3 separate regions of the Homo sapiens genome follow, and all the other regions are linked to region 1. Evidence: promoter capture Hi-C in human tissues and cell types (Jung and others, 2019). All regions are on one chromosome and are shown on one strand. Each heading gives the region's core, a stretch centred on a gene start or on the middle of the fragment in contact. The rest is flanking DNA. Distances are from core to core; before and after follow the strand shown. Region 1 holds the start of RCAN2 (regulator of calcineurin 2). Region 2 overlaps SLC25A27 (solute carrier family 25 member 27). Region 3 overlaps CYP39A1 (cytochrome P450 family 39 subfamily A member 1).

Evidence for each region. Contacts are between HindIII fragments. The study calls those that stand out against the background at their distance.
Region 2: a contact is called between a fragment that was not itself captured here and the fragment with the promoter of RCAN2 in region 1, in 1 of the 25 tissues and cell types used here (psoas muscle).
Region 3: a fragment that was not itself captured here is called in contact with the fragment with the promoter of RCAN2 in region 1 in 1 of the 25 tissues and cell types used here (hippocampus).

What each region holds. Positions count from the first base shown.
Region 1 is chr6:46,489,768-46,492,966 of GRCh38, reverse strand. RCAN2 (regulator of calcineurin 2) reads left to right here and starts at 1,518. Exons shown (of 5, transcript NM_001251974.2): 1 at 1,518-1,794. RCAN2-DT (RCAN2 divergent transcript) reads right to left here and starts at 915. Exons shown (of 3, transcript NR_125837.1): 1 at 840-915. RefSeq lists silencers at 896-955, 1,466-1,555. The HindIII fragment of the contact is 8,830 bases long and covers 1-3,199 here.
Region 2 is chr6:46,666,955-46,670,153 of GRCh38, reverse strand. SLC25A27 (solute carrier family 25 member 27) reads right to left here. Exons shown (of 9, transcript NM_004277.5): 6 at 1,361-1,445; 7 at 1-19. Among named protein-coding and RNA genes, the nearest start is that of SLC25A27, 16 kb to the right of the region's middle. The HindIII fragment of the contact is 7,013 bases long and covers 1-3,199 here.
Region 3 is chr6:46,639,670-46,642,868 of GRCh38, reverse strand. CYP39A1 (cytochrome P450 family 39 subfamily A member 1) reads left to right here. Exons shown (of 12, transcript NM_016593.5): 2 at 571-706. Among named protein-coding and RNA genes, the nearest start is that of CYP39A1, 12 kb to the left of the region's middle. The HindIII fragment of the contact is 6,673 bases long and covers 1-3,199 here.

The DNA of each region.
Region 1 (3,199 bases), core at 269-2,768:
TTGTTTAAAGGGTTGGGGATGCTTTACTTGGAAAGAAAGGGGATCCTGGAGTGCATTAGACATGCTAGCTATTTTTACATATTTTAAAGATAGTTAGAAGAGGAATTTGACTTGGTTTCTTTGGCTTCAAAAAGTAAGGGAGAACTAATGATTAAAGGGAGGCAAGTTTTTGCTCAACTTAAGAATGCCCTTTCAGACAATTCTAACCCAAATGGCAATTATCTAAATCAACGACTAATTACAGATTTATGCATCCAGGGGAAGGCTGAACGAGGGGAAGCCTAAGGTCATTTTCAATTCTGAAATTGTGTTTATGTTAATGCAGATTAATCAGAGAGAAGAGCCAACGTCTCGTCTACCTTTTTTTGTTGAAAACAAACAAAACGTGATTGTATGTCAACTTTGGAAAAAAACAACGTAGTGTGGGTAAGTGAAGAATGATTGTGAATGGACTGCTTCAGTGCAATCGTAATATTGTTATCAGAAAATCAAAAGGCATAAAAAGCAAAAAGAAAACGGCTTATTTATGCAGCAATTCGAAAGATGACAGAACACAAACCTGATTTAAATGTTATTCACTCCCTCCCTCAGATTGGTCTGCACACCTCCTTCCTTTAATTTCCCGCACTCTCCTATGATCTTTTGCATAATTCACATTCTCTTGCCATGAGACTCAGTCCTGTTCCTATCTGTGCCACCCGTAAGCCACAGGCTTCCTTACCCATTTGAGTTGCTTTATTCCGTAAAGCAGAGACTTCTACTGGGGTTAACTTTGTTGAGCAACAGATCTACCCTAGATTGCGATTCACCTTCAGTCCCGTTTGCTGTAGGATACCAACCTCCCACTCACTGTGTCATGGCTCTCACACAATAGGATTCCTTGCAGCCCGAACCCTTCTGTCCTCAGGTCTGATGGCTGCAAATCCTGGCAAAGCTGTGAAGCCCGCGCAGGGCACCCTCAGCGGCCTGGGCTGGGCCGGGCGCAGGGCTCCAGCCAGAGGGCGCCAGCGCCCACCAAGCGCAGAAGCCCGGGAGGACCATCCAGGGGCTCCCCGACATTTCCTCAGTTAGCCAGAGTCGGGGGGCTCAGACATCTGGTAAGAAGAGTCTTTCTCCCAGTACTCCCCCACCACAGTTTGCTTCTCTGACCATTTCTTCTGGGCTGTCGCTGCCCCCTCACCCTCAGCTTAGTATGGGACCCCGAGGAGCCTCTTCCCGCTGAGGCCGGGACTCCTGCAGCCAGGCTCCCACGCCAGGTGCCCGGAGGCTCCTGCGCCCTCCCGGGCACCTGAAGTGGAAAGGAGGGGGTGCGGGGCTGAGGGCAGGGTGAGAGCCCCGGAGGTGCGGTGGGTAGGGGACTGGGGAGGGCGCCGGGTCAGGAGGGAGGAGATGAGAAGAGGCCAGACAGGGGCTTTCGGTTTCCCTGGGTCTGATTGGAGGTTGGCCCGATGAGTCGGAGCTGGGGACGCGCCCATCTCCGCCGGCTCCTGCGAGAGCCGCCGGCTCAGCCCCTCCCTGGAGCCGCTTTGTCCCGGGTGACGGCGGCGGAGGTTGCGGGGAGGAGCGGGCAGCAGGCAGAATCCCACTGACCCACGGCGGCAGAGAGAGGGAGGCGGGGCGCGCCGCGCCGCGTACGGCCCCACGCAAAGGCCCGCGGGCACCGCGCCGCCCCCACGCGCTCGCACCGGCGGGCAGGTGAGCAGGCAGCGCCGCGCGCTAGCAGCTGGCCCCCGTAGACGCCCCAGCCGCCGCCTCCGCCTCCGCCTCCGCCGGCGCATCGCGGACGCCCAGCAGGTCGGTTATGTAACCGCGCCGGCCAGGCTCGCCCAGGCACCCCGTCCCGCCGGGGCTGACAGCAGCCCCGGGGTCGTGCCGGGGGTCCGCGGCGGGGATCTGGTCTCCGGGCCGGGTCTGGGTGCAGGGCGGGGGCGGGGGCGGGGGCGGGGGCGGTGGCGGGGGTGGGGGCAGTGGCGGGGGTGGGGTTTGTCTCCAGATCTGTGGTCAGTCCCGGCTGCGGCCGTGGGGACGGAGATCTCCCGCGACCCCCCTCTAGGGGGCGCGGGTCCAAAGGAGCCCCTTCCCCACTGCCCGTGGCCCGGGGGTTTGCCTTCCTGGAAGCAGCAGCAGGTGCATAAGTGAAGGAGCGAGGATGACGCCTGTGATCCCCGGGACTGAGGCTTAGAGAGGGTCTAGAAGAGACTAACTGGATGCAGAGAGCAAAGAAGATCGAGAGATCCCTTCTTCCCAATGCAGAGGCTGGGGAGGGGGTAGGTGCACTGAGGTGCAGCGGGCTGAGAATTGTCCTGCTTGGGATTAGCGGCCTTGGGTCATCTAAAAATAACTTCAAGTTTGAAAAGTGAAATGGAGCGGAGCGCAGTGTGCCGGGTTCGTCCTGCCTGTGGGATGCTTCGCTCCAGAAGTCACCAGAGGGAACAGGCAAATCCCAGCCGCCTGATCCCTCGGCCGCCTCCAGGTCTCGCTGGTTTCCAGGGTGCCTCGGTTTGCCTTTTAGTTAATGATTTATTCTTCGAGGTACTTCTGCCTATTTCTTATCCCAAAATGAATTATAGCAGAATGCATGCTTTGAATCTTTCCTGTTTCTTACAATGGGATAGAGGTGTTCAACTGCCAAATGAAGTTTTTTTAAGTCTCAGTTTAGTAAAAACAAAAGTTTCTGGGGTTCCTTTAATATGCATTCCCACAGTTTTCCACAATTGGAGATGAAGGGATGTCACAGCATTCCAGCTCACACTTCTCTCTCCCTTCAGCCAGAATTTCACTCAACTTATCATGCAGAGGGGAGGCTTTAGGAAATGTAGGACAACTTTAACAGTGCAACTCAAGTTTCACACCTTTGTTATCCTTTATTACATCACTTCAAAACGAAGAACAAATGTACCACAAGGTACCACGCAACACTTGCTAACCGGCCTCTGCATTCTGGGGGCACAGTGAAGTTGGAAATACCCAAAAGCTGGAAAGGATCAAGAGGCAGGTCAGCATTGACTGTCAACTAGGCAGGAGAGTGAGCATTTGGCTGCTTTTCAGTGTAGTCATTGATTTTCTTTAGCCTTAGAGCTATTATATTAAGTATGATCAGCCATTGAGTTCAATTAGTCTAAAATGTGAGTTGCACTTTGCATTCAAATCCACTGCAAATCAAATCAGCATTTACTGAGCATCTACTACCTGAGTCCAG
Region 2 (3,199 bases), core at 235-2,734, 180 kb before region 1:
TACCAGTCCAGAACATAAACTATAAATACAAATAAATGAAATTGAAAGATGGTATGTAGTAGTTTGTAGCTTAGGAAAGGGAATGTGGTATTCAGAAAGAATATAATACTAAATATATTCTTACAAGCTTCATAATGCTCTTTTTGCTTAAAATTAATGCTAAATTAATTAAAGAGGTAGAAAAACAACAAAAAGAATGTCAGTCAACAAACAGGCATTGTGCACCTGCTGGTGTCAAGCATTCTTCTAGGCAGTGAACAAGACAGGTAAGACCCTGCCCTTGAGGAGCTTATACTTCACTTGGGAAAAGGCAGAAGTCAAATAAATAATTTCAGAAGCTGACAAAAGCTATGAAAAAAACATGGGGAAGTGTGACAGGGAGCAACTGGGTGACAGGCAGTCAGGGAAAGCTCCGGGGGTGACAGCAGAATTGAGTGGTTACAAAGGACACATGTATATGAAGACCTGAAGGAAGAATGTTACAAGAAGATAGAACAGTACATGCAAAAGCCGAGTCAGTAATACTCTTGGAGTGGTTAAATTCACATGCGTGTGTGCATGCGCGTGCACACACACACCCCTACCTCCAAATATTTGACTTGACACTATTACACTTTTAGGGTTGTCTACTTTTAGGGTCATCTAAATAGCATAGGAAGTTTTAGAATTTGGAAACGATCAGAAGCTAAATGAAATCACTATAATGTCAAGGACAGTAGACATCTATAAAATAAGTCATTCTAATGGATAATTTGAAATTGTGTTGCAAAGAGATCAAGGTACTGCTCCTTCCTGGAAAGCCCTTCGTATCCCTTTCTGTGAAGAGTCACAGCCTTTGAAAACCCTTGTCTATTTCTACCTCCTTTGTGGATCCTTCCAAGTGGTTATGTTTTTTCCTTCCCCTGAACCCTGTAGTAACTAGTTGCTTCCTTTTAGCATTTCCTGTAGAGTGTTTTTATATTTGTCTTGTTTTCCTGGTTGGTAAGTTCCCTGGGTAGGAATTGAGTTTACCCCTTTGGTGCCCACTGCAGAGCCCTGCCCAGTGCCTTTAACATAAAAGGCACTCAAACATATCTGTTGAAATGAGTTGGAGAGTCCATCATCATAGCCTGTTCCTGGGATGGCCCCATCAAGATGCAAATATTTTGAGAGGTTTAATCCAAAACATCCTACAACTTTGTCTGTCTCTTCCCCATTCTAACTGCAAGAAACTTTAAGAAATTTCTCTTTATAAATGTACTCTTCTCTAAAGGTGATGCCAGTACAATCCCAATCAAATGAGCCTAAAGAATTTATGTCAAATATGGAAGAAAAAGTGATACAAAAAAAAAAAACAGAGTCCAACTAAAACAATCCTTACCTTGATAAACCGTGAGTCATGATATTGTCCTCAAGTGGTGTATTCAATACCAAGTAGTGTTTCACTGTATCATAAGTGGTTAAATCTGGCAATGGAAAAAGTTTAAATATTCATCAGTCAACAGTGAATGTCTTTTGTGTCAAGAATATGCTAGGCTTGGGGCAGGAATGTGTACCAGGATGAAAGCTACCAAGGAATCCTTCTTGTTCTCAAGGAAAGCACAGCTACAGATAGAGGGAGAGAAAAAGAAGAAGAGACAGAAAGTCAAATGTATCATTTAGACTCCTTAATCTAGCTATGCCTAAATTCAGCTCAACCCCTGGGCCTTTCAGTATTTGAGCCAATAAATTACTTTTTTAGCCAAAAAAGTAATTTGATCAAGTAATTTGAATTGAGATCCTGTCACTTATAAATAAAAGGTCCTGACTATTATTCTACATTAAGCATTTTATACATTTTCAAGACAGGGTCTCTGTCACACAGGCTTGAGTGCAGTGGCGTGATCGCGGCTCACTGCAACCTCCGCCTCCTGGGCTCAAGTGATTCTTGTGCCTCAGCCTCCCAAGTAGCTAGGATTACAGGTGTGCATCTGGCTAATTTTTCAATATTTTTGTAGAGATGGGGTTTTACTATATTACCCAGGCTGGTCTCCAACTCCGGAGCTCAAGAGATCTGCTCACCTCAACCTCCCAAAGTGCTGGGATTATAGGCATGAGCCGCCGCGCCTGGCCCTTTTATACATTTTTCTAATGGCAATGAAGAGCTATGGAAGGGTTTTAAATAGGAGAATGACATCACAATGCTAGAGTTATATAAAGTTAACCCACACTAAAGTATGGGGAAGTAAGTTGTAATGAGGCAAGAATGGATAGGTACATTTGATCACATTGGGGGAAACAGCCATGGACAAAATGAACAAAAATCCTTGCTCTCTGTTGTGGGATGAGACAATAAAGTAAACTACATGGTGTTTCAGATGCACTTGCTCTTGAAGTAAATGCCCTGAAGACAAAGAAGGTAAGGAAAGGGGACAGAGAGTACCAGAGGGTAGGGAGGAATAGTTTCTATTAATTTTAAATTGGGTGATCAGGCAAGACCTCTTGATAAGTGGACATTTGAACAGAGACCAAAAGAAAGCATGAGAAAACAACCCTGTAGATAGCTAAGAGAAATTGCCCCAGGCAAAAATACAGTATGTTTTCTAACCCTGAGTCAGGAGTCAGCTTGCTGTGTTAGAGGAACAGCCAGAAGACTGGGCCGGCAGCAGCAGAATATGCAAGAAGTAGCAGAGTCTAGATGATGAAGAGCAGAAGCCAGGGGAGGCTTTTGAGCAGAGGAGTGACTGCCCAAGGTTACTATTTAGAACTTAATAGAACTATCGAGTTCTTACTGGAACTTAATAGAACTCAATAGTTCCTATTAAGAGTAGACTACAGGAAAACAAGGCAGAGCAGTAATCCCAGTAAGCGATGATGACGACTTGAATTAGGGAGTTGTGGAGCCCTGGTCAGATTCTGGATAAATTTTGAAGAATCAACAGGATCAGCCAGCAAACCGAATATGGAACGGAGAAAGAAATCAAAAACAACTGCAAGGTTTTGAGTGTGAACAATTTAAAGGACAGAGGCACCATTTATAGGGATGGTGAAAATGAAGACAGTTTTAAATTAAAAAAAATAAGGTAGTAGCAAAGGTAATCTTGATAAAATCAGTTTCAAAGGCATAGTGGGGCAAAATGGGAATGGGGTAGATATGGAAAGACTAGTTAGAAGGCCTCTGTAGTGGTCCAGTAGGAGGGGATAAATAATACTTGGACTACAGAATGGCTCCAGGAATGGA
Region 3 (3,199 bases), core at 278-2,777, 150 kb before region 1:
TTGATTGCTCCATTTTTCTAGTGAGTTACAAGGCAGGGACACTATGTCAGAATGGAGAGGTTGGGCAGGTTGTACAGGTGAAATAATCATTTTGAAAACTAGGAAAGTGAACAGATTAGAAAAGTGTATAGGATTGCAAGACATTGTTGAATAACCATGGATTTCCCATAAACCAGTTGGCAATTTTGAACCTTTTTGTTGAACAATATTCAGCTATAGGTTGCTTATAAGTCTACCAATATCTTGAAAACAATGTTTAAATGTCACAATGTTGATATAATTTCTAATTATTTATAATTATTATTTTCTACTTATTTCATAGTACAAGAAAAGAAGCTATAAATAGGCAATAAAATGATCAAAGGGAATATTACATATTAGGACAGAACAAATTAAAATGTATATAATTCAGATCTGGCTGAAACAATCAAAATTTATAACTAATTGCCAAATATAATCATAATAATTTTTCTTTTGACTATAACTTCAGCATTAGGATTCTTGAGGAGAATGGTCTTAAACATGGCTTAGGAATGCTTACTAATATAATCTATGTTTGTTTTATTTCAGTATGGACCAATATTTACAGTCTTTGCTATGGGAAACCGAATGACCTTTGTTACTGAAGAAGAAGGAATTAATGTGTTTCTAAAATCCAAAAAAGTAGATTTTGAACTAGCAGTGCAAAATATCGTTTATCGTACAGGTAAAGAATATTTTCAGATAGTCCATTCGAAATCCAACATTGGAATCCAGGAGTAGTTTTAGGTAAAAATTACATCCTCATTCCTCTATCAAGAATGATGAGGGTCCATTATTTTATTCTTGAGGTATGGGTAGAAGAGGAAAGAGTTATGGGTAGAATAGTTTGGCCATTGAAATGCAAATGAATGGCAGCCTAATACATTTAGATTTGAATTAGACACGTGAAAGTGATAAGGTTACCTCATTGATGTTTTCTTTAGAGAATATTTGGAATCTGTATCATGTTACAGCTTCCAAGATGTCACTAACTCTGTTCCACTGCTGTGTATACAGTGTTCTACAGGGTACAGCTCTTGGACTGGTTACATGTTACTCAGTCCCTGAAACTAGAATTCCATGGCTTAGTAAATCCTTTACAGTGGCATTTCCTGACAAATTTTATAGGGCTGTTATGGTCAATGGGAGCTTGACTTGCCCTTTCACAAATCCTCCATCTTCAGAGACTACCAGATTGTACAGTCAGCATGCTTCCAGTATGGCTGTCTGCCTTCATTTCTTCCTAGGCTGCAATTGTGTGTACTGGGGCCATGTGTCCTCCCTGGAACGCAGAGCTGGTTCAATTTGTGTCTGGTTCTTTTTTGTGCTTTCACAATGTTTTTGCTTGCTTCTATTCTCTGTGGCTTCTTTCTCTCTGTTTCCCTTTTTTCTTCTTTGGTTCCTTTTCATGTAACCTTTTGTGCATTTCTTGCCATTAAGACAAGAAAGTTTGTTTTAAAAGCTACCAGTAATCAATAGAATTATATATATTTTTTCTTCTTGTATGCATGATCATCACAACCTGTTGGTGAAATTATTTGATTATTTAGTGCTTCTTGATACTTGGACTATGGAATTTTAGATCAAATAATATAAATATTTTGAAGGCCTTTGATCTGTAGAGTCGCGTATCCCTTCAGAAAAATTTACTAAGTTACCTATCAGAGGTGTATGGAAATGATTGAGTTTTTTTCACCTGAGCCTCCTCTGGGGACTTTCATGTTTAAATATTTCATTGAACAGATGAAATATATTAATATTTATTCTTGAGTCAGCTTCCCATCCCTCCCATATAGTAGATGTATGCTACTATACATACAGAAGATGTATAGTAGCATACTATACATACCAGCATAGTATATGTATAGTAGCATAGTATACATACTATACTGGTATGGTAACATAGAGAAGATGTATGCTCAGGAAATCTAAAAACTGTTTTTCATTAACTTACACAAAATGTATCTTACACGTAATAGGATGACGAAATACAAAATTAAAACTTATTCTTTGAAAAAGTTACTTCAATAAAATGACAACAATGGACACAGGGGACTACTAGAGGGAGGGGGGTGGGCGGCAGGGGGCAAAGGTTGAAAAACTAACTATTGAGTACTGTGCTCATTACCTGAGTGATGGGATTAATCATGCCCCAAACCTCAGCATAACACAATATACTTGTATAACAAACCTGCACATGTACCCTTTGAATCTAAAATAAAATTCAAAATTTTTTTAAAACAGAAAAAGTTACTTCAAGGTCAATAAAACAAGATAAAATAAAAATATAAAGAAATGAGTAAACAATAAACCACAATTTCTAATTAGGAATGTGTGTTATAGAAGGAGCACGAATACTAACATAAAGAAAATAGTGGGCTCAAAGCTATTCATGGGGTTAGGAAAGGCCTCCTGGTGGAAGTAGTGTTCAAGAAGACACTTGAAGGACAAATAGAAATTTGCAGGAGAAGTTTGAGGCTCATAGGTATAAGTGTGTGGGATTGGGTGGGAGTAGATATGGGTATAATAAAGGAGAGAACATTCTGAGCAGACAGAACAGCCTCTGAAATGCTGGGATATGTAAAATATGTTTTTAATGTATCTGGACTGTAGATTTTGAGGGAGAAGGGCTGAAAATACCAGCTCTCTTAATCACCCATTTATAGATTATCCCTTAAAGTGAATAGATTTCCATCATCTCACAGAATACGTTGAATCTTTTTTATTTGTTTGTTTTGAGATAAAGTCTCTCTCTGTCACCCAGGCTGGAGTGCAGTGGTGTGATGTTGGCTCACTGCGACTCCAACTCCTGGGTTCAAGCGATTCTTCTGCCTCAGCCTCCCCAGTAGCTGGGATTACAGGTGCCCGCCACAGCCGGCTAATTTTCCTATTTTTAGTAGAGACAGGGTTTCACCATGTTGGTCAGGCTGGTCTGGAACTTCTGACCTCAAGTGATCCACCTGCCTTGTTCTCCCAAAGTTCTGGGATTACAGTTGTGAGCCACCACACTCAGTCGAGAATAGGTTGAATCTTTATCTACTTTTATTTATGGGAGGTGACCTTATGTACTGAGAGGACTTTGGCTGTAGTCCCTGCTGACCAAATAATAGTAGATATATATTGACTGTGTGTTTCAAGGAGTTGTTGCTTATTTTGAAAATAGTTTTCTTTGTTCATA